Regions from separate parts of the Homo sapiens genome. Here regions 2 and 3 are each linked to region 1. The links are contacts of gene promoters, found by promoter capture Hi-C in blood cells and fetal thymus (Javierre and others, 2016). All regions are on one chromosome and are shown on one strand. The core of a region is centred on a gene start or on the middle of the fragment in contact, and the rest is flanking DNA. Distances in the headings are between cores, read along the strand shown. Region 1 holds the start of C9orf50 (chromosome 9 open reading frame 50). Region 2 holds the start of DOLK (dolichol kinase). Region 3 holds the start of MIGA2 (mitoguardin 2).

What was found. The method cuts DNA at HindIII sites, captures the fragments that hold promoters and counts their contacts. A CHiCAGO score of 5 or more calls a contact.
Region 2: the fragment with the promoter of DOLK here is called in contact with a fragment that was not itself captured in region 1 in 1 of 17 cell types (endothelial precursors); the score reaches 5.1 in endothelial precursors.
Region 3: the fragment with the promoter of MIGA2 here is called in contact with a fragment that was not itself captured in region 1 in 7 of 17 cell types (endothelial precursors, M0 macrophages, total CD4 T cells and 4 more); the score reaches 12.7 in endothelial precursors.

Annotation. Positions count from the first base shown.
Region 1 is chr9:129,621,062-129,624,351 of GRCh38, forward strand. It overlaps C9orf50 (chromosome 9 open reading frame 50), which reads right to left and starts at 40. Exons shown (of 7, transcript NM_199350.4): 1 at 1-40. It also overlaps a transcript of NTMT1 not described here. RefSeq lists enhancers at 1-152, 3,023-3,162, 3,173-3,222. The HindIII fragment of the contact is 3,526 bases long and covers 1-3,290 here.
Region 2 is chr9:128,946,142-128,949,431 of GRCh38, forward strand. It overlaps DOLK (dolichol kinase), which reads right to left and starts at 1,462. Exons shown (of 1, transcript NM_014908.4): 1 at 1-1,462. The coding sequence starts at 1,162. NUP188 (nucleoporin 188) reads left to right here and starts at 1,558. Exons shown (of 44, transcript NM_015354.3): 1 at 1,558-1,610; 2 at 3,048-3,102. The coding sequence starts at 1,579. RefSeq lists enhancers at 222-784, 785-1,346, 1,208-1,277, 1,347-1,908, 1,628-1,677. The HindIII fragment of the contact is 6,982 bases long and covers 1-3,290 here.
Region 3 is chr9:129,035,147-129,038,436 of GRCh38, forward strand. It overlaps MIGA2 (mitoguardin 2), which reads left to right and starts at 1,480. Exons shown (of 16, transcript NM_001329990.2): 1 at 1,480-1,535. RefSeq lists a silencer at 1,465-1,594 and an enhancer at 1,935-2,064. The HindIII fragment of the contact is 1,706 bases long and covers 1,356-3,061 here.

The DNA.
Region 1 (3,290 bases), core at 337-2,836:
GCAGCCGTGAAACGGCATCACCGCATCACCGCTGGTAGAGAGAGCACTTAGCCTGCCTTGCAGTGTTCAAAGCGTGGAACTGTTACCGTCATTAGCGCTCTACTGGGAATTAGGAAACCTGGAACCAGCTTGAGGGAAGAGAGACCTGACCAGCAGCCTCCCAGCCCTGGTGCTGCCTCAGAGACCCCTGGGTGGGGAGCCTGTTGAAAATACAGATGACTTACCCCCAGCCCCCATTCTGATTCAGTACGTCTCTGCTGGAGCCAAGACAGTTTGTTGTTCTTGTTGTTGTTGTTAAAGAGATGGGGTCTTGCTAAGACGGGGTCCTGCTGTCACCCAGGCTGGAGTGCAATGGCACCATCATAGCTCACTGCAGCCTCAAATTCTTGGGCTCAAGTGATCCTCCTGCCTCAGCCTCCTGAGTAGCTGGGACTACAGGCACACACCACCACAGTTGGCTAATTTTTGTATATTTTGTAGAAATGGGGTAGAATTTTTTTGTATTTATGTTGCACGGGCTGGTCTTGAACTCCTGGGCTCAAGTGATCCACTTGCCTTGGCCTCCCAAAGTGCTGGGATCACAGGCGTGAGTCCCCACTTCTGGCCAAGACACAGACTTTTAACAAACTCCCCCTTTGGGAGGCAGAGCCCCAGTCTTACTCCCAGCTCTGACACTGAGGGGTTTCTAAGCCTGCTTCCTCCCAACCACACCCCACTCCCAGATTGTTGTCAGCTCTGAGCTGACTCCTGGGCAGTGTCACACTCACCCTGGTGGGCTTCTGGGTGGGGCCCTAGAAGGTCCTGTGAGTTTAGAGCTCTCTACAGGCAGGCTGTAGAGCCCATCATCCCTGCCTGGTGCCTCTCCCAGCCCCTCCCGGCTGCCTCTGGGCCGCTTCAGGGTCATTGTGATCCGCCCCTCACCCCTGGGCATCTGAGTAGCAGTGGGCACTGAGGCCTGGGGACTAAGGGTGGGGCTATTGTGCCCTGGATGCCCTGGCCGCAGCCACCTGGGGCACTGGGACTCTGACCAGGGCAGCCAGGCCTACCCTTTCCAGATCTGGGAGGCTTAGGCTGGGTGGCTCTGGAAGTAGAACTTCCACCCCAAGACCAGGCAGTCAGAATACAATGGACCTAGAAATGAACAGACCCTGCGGGGCACGGTGTCTCACGCCTGTAATCCCAGCACTTTGGGAGGCCGAGGCGGGCGGATCACCTGAGGTCAGAAGTTCAATACCAGCCTGGCCAACATGGTGAAACCTCGTCTCTACAAAAAATACCAAAATTTGCCATGCATGGTGTTGTGCACCTATAATCCCAGCTACTTGGGAGGCTGAGACAGGAGAATCGCTTGACCCTGGGAGGCGGAGGTTGCAGTGAGCTGAGATCATGCCACTGCACTCCAGCCTGGGTGACAAAGCGAGACTCCATCTCAAAAATAATAATAATAATAATCCAAGGTCTGGGTGCTAGGTGTGCTTCTTGCTATTGAGATGTCATTTCTTTCAGGCAGTCTCAGCTGACAAAGAAATGTGTGTGTATACTATGAAACACACACATATCTATAAATATTTCTATAGGTAACCATCTGTACTTATATTAAGCTAAACATGAGCTCATGCTGACATCTCCAACTCTAATCCGTTACACAGATCATTTGAGACTCTGTCTCACAAAAAAAAAAGAGGCCAGGTTCCAGTGGCTCATACCTGTAATCCTAACACTTTGGGAGACCGAGGCAGGTGGATTGCCTGAGCTCAGGAGTTCGCAATCAGCCTGGGCCACATGGTGAAACCCCGTCTCTACTAAAATACAAAAAAATTAGCCGGGCGTGACAGCGTGTGCCTGTAGTCCCAGCTACTTGGGGGGCTGAGGTAGGAGAATTGCTTGAACCCGGGAGGCGGAGGTTGCAGTGAGCCGAGATCACGCCACTGCACTCCAGCCTGGGCAACAGAGTGAGACTCCATCTCCATAAAAAAAAAAAGAAAGAAAGAGCCGGGCACGGTGGCTCACGCCTGTAATCCCAGCACTTTGAGAGGACAAGGCGGGTGGATCATGAGGTCAGGAGATCGAGACCATCCTGGCTAACACGGTGAAACCCTGTCTCTACTAAAAATACAAAAAATTAGCTGGTTGTGGTGACGGGTACCTGTAATCCCAGCTACGCGGGAGGCTGAGGCAGGAGAATGGCGTGAACCCAGGAGGCGGAGCTTGCAGTGAGCGGAGATCGCGCCACTGCACTCCAGCCTGGGCGACAGAGCAAGATTCCATCTCAAAAAAAAAAAAAGAAGGAAGGAAGGAAGGAAGGAAGAAAAGAAATTAACAGACCCACTTTCAAGTCCATGGTCTGCTGTTTTGCTGTGTGATCCTGGAGAAGTGTCTTCTTTCTCAGGACTCCCTGGGCCTTATCTCTGAGTCTTGGCTGGGAGAGGGCCGAGAGGAAGCTCATAGTATTGTGAAGCTGGGGTGGGAGACAGAGGTCATTTACATGAGTATTTCACTGGCGTGGCATAGTTTCATAATTTGAAAATGAAGAAACGACTTTGTAATTCAAATAACAGAGTGACTCACTAGAGAACGCGTCGCCAAAGATATATTCTATTTTCTGTCAATGCTTCTCACCAGGGATGGAGGGACATACTTTCCTGGAGAGCTACAATATTGAGTGGGGGAGGGAGATATTTTTGTATTTATTTAAAGGGTATGTGTCTTTTTTAATGGCTGCGAAACACCAGATTAACTAGACGGTTTCTTTTTTTCTTTTCTTTTCTTTTTTTTTTTTTTGGAGACGGAGTCGCGATCTCAGCTCACTGCAAGCTCCGCATCCTGGGTTCACCCCATTCTCCTGCCTCAGCCTCCCGAGTAGCTGGGATTACAGGTGCCCACCACCACGCCCGGCTAATTTTTTTGTATTTTTAGTAGAGACGGGGTTTCACCGTGTTAGCCAGGATGGTCTCGATCTCCTGCCCTTGTGATCCACCTGCCTCGGCCTCCCAAAGTGCTGAGATTACAGGCGTGAGCCACTGCGCCTGGCCTAACTAGATGGTTTCTAAGGAGCCCTCCAGCCCTTGCACTCTGCAAATATTTATCAAGGAACTACTATGTGCTAGGCTTGGGAATTCAGAGATGCCAGAGGCTTTGAGGTCAGGGAGCCGGCCAGTCCTGGGAAGGCCTTGGAGCGTGGCTGTGGGGAAGGGGCTTGCTCTTCTGTTGACAGGAAATAAGACAGGGCTGGATTTTTAGGCATACAGAGAGCTTGGATCAGAGCTGCCCCCTGGCGGAGGATTCCGGAC
Region 2 (3,290 bases), core at 212-2,711, 680 kb before region 1:
GAGTGTGACCCAAAGGCTTGATGCGGAAGTAGCGCACATACTCCAGGAAGATGAAGACCGCCAGGCATACAGTGGCGGCTACATAGAGCAGTGGCCGGTCAAAGATGATACCTGGGATGTAGGTGGCTACCACAATGAGGTGGAAATACTTTCGGGCGATGGTGGGGGCCTGGTGCTTCTTGGACTCGGAAGATGACCGCTTGGCATTCTGGTACAGCACCACCAGGCAGGCCAAGGTGGCCAGCAGAGACCAATAGGCTAGGAGGTAGATGCGGGTGTCTGTCTGGAAGAGAAACTGAAGAAGCCAGAGCAGGGGATTCCTGCGGATGAGCCGGTGCAGCCAGGGTAGGACCACACCAAGGCTCAGCACACAGGTCATGAGGTGGAAGAAGATGGAGGAGGCCCAGGTGCCTGAGTCCATGAAGACAAACAGAGTGCTGAAGAAAATGCCCATGAGTACCATCCCTACTACCACCACCAGCAGGAAGAAGTCCACTGGGTCCCCCTGACTTTCCACCAGTGTCAGAGAGCGCTTGATGAGCTGGTTGAGGACAAAGCTAATGCCACCCAATACCAGCAGTGCCTCACCAGGGGTGAAGCAGCGGGGCAGCAGGTACAGCAGGATCATGTTGAGATAAACGAAGATCAGAAGGACTTCCAGGACTTCGATCACCTCCCCCACGCTCAACGAGTGCTTCATGATATAAATGATAACACCTCCAGCCAAGCCCAAGATGACACAAGTGTTGGTTGGCACTGGGCGAGTGATGCCGAGCGCCAACACTGATGAGAAGAGGGCCACTGCCATGCCAGTGGCTGCCACCACAATGCCAAAACGCTCAAAGAACGGGTTCCCAGCAGTCTGGCACCGCTCCTTCATGACTAGTCCAAGCAAAGGCATGACCATGGAGGCGGGCAATAGGCCACTGTTTGCGGACATTCGGAACTGGAAGACGGCGCTTCCCTGCTGTAGCAGCCGGTCCCACTTGTATTGGACGTAGAAGGCCTGCACTGCGAGGGCCACGGCGCACCACGAGTATCGGTCCCATACGGTTGCGTGGATGCTCAGCACCACTGCAAACACTACTGCCGCCTCTGCCAGCACCGATCCACTCAGCGGAGCCCCAGGCCCCGGGGCCGGAGATGGGCACTCTCGGGTCATATCTCTAGACCTGGGGCTTCACGGAGGCCGGGGCGACTACGGACGCCCTAGACTTCGGGCCCCTCAGCCCCGTCAAGCAGAGGGAGGCACTTTCACCCGGCCAGCAACCTTCTCCCTCCGTTCTCCAGCAGCGAGGAGGGAACTCCACCGCAGGTCACTTCTGCGGCCTGGGAGCTGGCGCCCGGCCACCCCCCACAGCCTCCAACCTACGGCGTAGACGTCGCCACTCTGCAGCCTTCCTCACAGTTACAGCCGCCCCCGCTGCCGGCTCCTCACCTCTTTGGGCCTCGCCATCTTGGCACCGCCCCGCGGCAACGTCACGTGACGAAATCCCCGCCCACGCTCCGGGTCCGGGGGCGAGCGGTCACGTGGGCATGGCGTCTGGGGGCGGGGTTAGGGCGAGCGGGCGCGCGAAGATGGCGGCGGCCGCCGGCGGGCCGTGTGTGAGGTGCGGAGCGGGTCGAATGGACCGGGGTGGCTGTGAAGCGCGGTGTCAAAGCCGAGCGGAAGCGGGGCGGGAATTGGAGGCGGGATGTGGCGACAGTGGCAGGGCCAACCCCGGCTGGATGGACGGGCACCGAGACGGGAGGCGGTTACGTCCAAACGGTCCCCGCGCGCGGGGATCTGAAGAGTCTTCTTCAGGAGGGGGGCCGGCTCTTCACCCCTTCCCTCCGCGCTCGGCCTCCCATCTCCTCACCCAGGGCCCTTTGCCTTCCTCCTCTCTCACCTCCGACGCGTCTCTTGGCGCCCCACCCGCGCTTCCTTCTCCGGCCGTGACGCTCCCTCGAGCCACGGGGAGCTTTGCGGTCTCCTGGGGTACCCCCCACCCACGTCCCTGCTGCAGGCTCCCAGTGTCCTGCCCCGGCGTCGAGTGCGCCCTGCTGGCTCCCCGACCTCTCCCGCGATCTGTTCTTGTTAGGATTTTGTTTCGCGTTGAGCGGAGCCACGCTTGCGGCTTCTGTCCTCTCCGCGCCTCGTATCGTTCTTTTCTTGCACTGAATCAAGTCAGCCAGCATGTCCAAATCCTCCAAGAGATTTCAGGGATTGAACTAGGCTTTAGGGACAAGAAGATGAAATATTATATACGAAAACTACAATTCTGACAAAGTGCTTTCTAGCGTCAGACCCTGGTGGAGCGCTTCCCAGGAGTTATCTCATTCAATTCTCGCAACTCCGAGAGGCGCCTTCTATTTCACAGATGACTCAGAAGTCCGGCTCAGAGCTAGCCAAGTGATAAAGAGAGCCTTCAAGCTGAAGTCTGCGTACCTCCAGTGCTATAACCAGACCACCACGCCTCCTTCTGTCTTCCACATTGCAGCTCGAAGGTCTTCGTTCTTCCCACCACCCTCCCTCAAAGTTAAACATCCCCGTCTCTTATCCTTCCCTGTGCCAGCAGTGTTTTCCCCACTTTTTTTTTTTTTTTTTTTTTTTTTTTTTTTTGAGACGGAGTCTCGCTCTGTCGCCCAGGCTGGAGTGCAATGGCACGATCTCGGCTCACTGCAAGCTCTGTCTCCCGGGTTCATGCCATTCTCCTGCCTCAGCCTCCCAAGTAGCTGGGGATACAGGCACCCGCCACAACGCCTGGCTAATTTTTTGTATTTTCAGTAGAGACAGGGTTTCACTGTGTTAGCCAGGATGGTCTCGATCTTCTGACCTCATGATCCGCCCGCCTCGACCTCCCAAAGTGCTGGGATTACAGGCATGAGCCACCGTGCCCGGCCCTAACAATATTATTATATAACAAGATTACTTTCCAAAAATTTAACAAATCGTTTTGTATATTGAGATTTTTTGCTTTTAGAGAGCAGACAAAATGGCTATGAGGCAGTGTACAAGTTTGTATGATCAGAAAGAGCAAAATTACCTCTGTTCTCTCATTTTGCAGGAGCAGTAGAGAACTGTGGACTATTCTGCTTGGAAGGTCAGCTCTGAGAGAGCTGGTAAGTGGTGGTGTTCTTGAGTGGGTTCTCTGGGTTCTTTGTGTAGCTTTTGTTACCAAAAAAAACCTTTTTTTAAATGTAGGAAGTAAACACATTTATTTATTTAGAGACAGAGTTTCGCTCTTGTTTCCCAGGCTGGAGTGCAATGGCGTGATCTCGGCTCACCGCAACCTCCGCCTCCCAGGTTC
Region 3 (3,290 bases), core at 230-2,729, 590 kb before region 1:
TTGGGCAGGATTGTCTCGATCTCCTGACCTCATGATCCACCTGCCTTGGCCTCTCAAAGTGCTGGGATTACAGGCGTGAGCCACTGCTCCCGGGCTTTTTTTTTTTTTTTTTTTTTGAGATGGAGTCTGGCTCTGTTGCCCAGGCTGGAGTGCAGTGGCGTGATCTTGGTTAACTGCAATCTCCTCCTCCCGGCTCAAGCAATTCTCCTGCCTCAGCCTCCCAAGTAGCTGGGATTATAGGTGTGTGCCACCACGCCCAGCTAGCTTTTTTATTTTTAGTAGAGACCGGTTTTCACCATTTTGGCCAGGCTGGTCTCGAACTCCTGACCTCATGTGATCCACTCACCTCAGCCTCCCAAAGTGCTGGGAATAGAGGCATGAGCCACTGCTACCGGCCGACGATTACAATTTTAAAACGTAGTTGTGCCCAGCTCTTCGCAGTTATGGAAGGGCTGATACACCGTCCTCTTTCCATCCTCACCAAAGCCCTATGATTTGGGAAAGGGAAGATTTTATCCCTATTTCTTTTTTTCTTTTTGAGACGGAGTCTCGCCCTTTGGCCCAGGTTGGAGTGCAATGGGTGGATCTCAGCTCACTGCAACCTCTGCCTCCCGGGTTCAAGAGATTCTCCTGCCTCAGCCTCCTGAGTAGCTGGGATTACAGGTGTGTGCTACCAAGCTTGGCTAATTTTTTTTTTTAATCTTTAGTGGAGACAGGGTTTCACCAGGTTGGCCAGGCTGGTCTCGAACTCCTGACCTCGTGATCCACCCACCTCGGCCTCCCAAACTGCTAGGATTACAGGCGTGAGCCACCGCGCCCGGCCTCATCCCTATTTCATAGAGGGGTAAGCTCTAGAGAGCTGAAGTGGCAACACTTGATTCTATCTCAGGTCGGCCTGATCTCAATCCTGGTATTTAGTGTAAGACCCAGATAGGTGGCCAGAACTGAAGACCCCTTGACTCCAGCTCTCAGAGAGACACTGTCTAGCGGCGAGACCTGGCACTTTTGCAAACAACTCCAGAACAAGGGGGAGAGTGGCGACAGTATAAGAGCATGCTGCGGGAAGTCAGGGGCGGTAGTATTTGAAAATGGGCGCTTGGAGAGTGGGAAGGATTTGTCCTTGTGTGGAACAAGAATAGAGGATCCTAATACGAGGGCTCAGCCTGCTTTGGCGTACTCCAAGAAAGCCCCTTGGAGGTCTGACTGCTCCGCTTCAGCCCCTTTAAGAATGGCCCCGCCCCACCCAGCCGCCCATGTCGATCTAATCTGAATGACCAATAGTAGAAGAGAAGAGACCACTTTCGCGCTTCAACCGCACTAGGAGGAGGGGAAGAGGGCGGGAGAGGCGGAATATAAGCTTGGTCACATGACCCGCCTAATTGGCCAGAGGCTGCGGCGGCCCTGAGAGACTCAGCGATGCTCATTGGCCAGAAGAGGGTGGGGGCTTGGCGCTAGGCCACGCCCCCGGGCGGCCGGTTTGGTTGCGCAGCCGCCGGGGAAGGAGACGCTGCCCTTCCGCAGCGATGGCATCCCGGGTGAGTATCGGCCCCGGCCGAGCCCCCAAGGCGGGCGGGCAGCGCGGCAGGGCCGGGACTTGAGCGGAGGACCGAGTAGGCGCAGGTGTCCGGGCCCAACAGGACCAGGAAGGTGTCGGGGTTGGAATGAGTGGGTACCCGGGCCGGGGACGGTGCGAGAGGGTGCCTTGCTTGGGAGCGGAACGAGAAGGTACTTGGGTCAGGGAGGTGATGCCCGGGCCTGGAACGTGGCGGGGATTGGAGCAGGCGCGCAGGTACCCGATCCGAGGCGGGGAGAGCACCCGGGATGGAAGGAGCAGGCGTGCGGGCCGTGAGCGGCGCCAGAGGGTACCTGGGTGAGTTTCAATGATATTCCGGGGTGGGGGCAAGAGAAGAAGGGGCTGCCCAAGATGCCTGGGGTGGAGTGAGCAATTTCTGAAGACGGGGATATTGCTGAGGTCCAACGCGGGGATGCCCGGTGCCCGGCATGGTGGGACTATTGAGGGGTCCGGCATGGGGTGAATAGGAGACTGGGCAGAGTGGCTCAAGGGAGTCGGGGACGTTGTTGGGGTCCAGACGGAATGAGTGAGTGCACAGGCCAGAGTCATTAGTGGGGTGGTCTAGCGCAGGGGAGGAGGCGCGTAGGATGATATGCTTAGGCACCCAGGCTGAGGGTGCTGTAAGTGCTGTGGTGACGGTGGAATGAGGAGGTGTCCGCCTAAGATTGTAGGGCACAAGAGATGGCTGCCCAAGTGGGGCCAGGCCCTACACAGCAGTAGAAGTGTCCATTTGGTAGGGGACCTTGCCGTGGGCTTTTCATTGTGGAGAGGAGGTGGAGGGGTCTCAGCTTAGGCCCTGGAGGACGGACAGGGTGCCAGGGGGACGGACACAGTGTGGGTTGACTGGATTTGGATCCATCCCTGGAGTGAAGCAGGCTTGGGGGCTGGTGATGTTACCTCGCACCTGCAGGCTCTGCCTCCCAGTGGGGACAGCAGGGGCTGCTCTGGACTCTCCCGCAAACAGTGGGCCTCAGTCACCCCTGTAGCGTTTATTTGTTCAGGCTCATCTTTAACACCATGTGGGCTTCTCACTTGGGGGCCCAGAAGTCCTACAGTTGTGGCCTGGAAGGAGCAGTGGCAGTTGTAGCAGGCAGAAGCTGGGAAACCCTGCCACAGCCTTGAGATCCCCCAGAGCTTGGCCGCTTAGTACTCGGTGACCTCAGGCAGGCTGCCTCATCTCAGAGCCTCCGCGTTTCCCCATCCTTGAGATAAACATTGGCCATTGCGAGGGTTCTGAGAGGACTGGACCCAAAGCCTGTCGTGGAGAGCCTGTTCTGGATCTGGCCTGGAATAAGAGCTTGGGAAATAGTAGCTGCTGGCCCTCTGATGTTCTTGTCTTCCCTCTTTCTGAGACCTGAGCCAGCCTGGGGTTGGGGTGAAGGGTAGGGGGACGTGGCTTACAGTATTAACCTAGGTCCTGACCACTGCAGCTCACGTAGCTCAATTCACAGCCTCCTGGGCAGATGTCTCTACCCCTGACAACCTGGAAGCTTCCTTAGCCTGCCCTGCCCTCTCACACACCCCCACCAGCCCTAGAGCGAGACTGACAGGCTCCTCAGTCCTTCCCACTCACTGGGGAGAAGCTGTTTCTTCTGCTGGCCCAGTGACTTTGGCGGCCATCCCAGGGAGACAGGGTCTGTCCTGGCTTGTGTGTTCCTTCCGCTTGAGGTCCCGGGAGACCTTGAAGGCATCCTTGGGCTTGGAGCTGGAAGTGGGG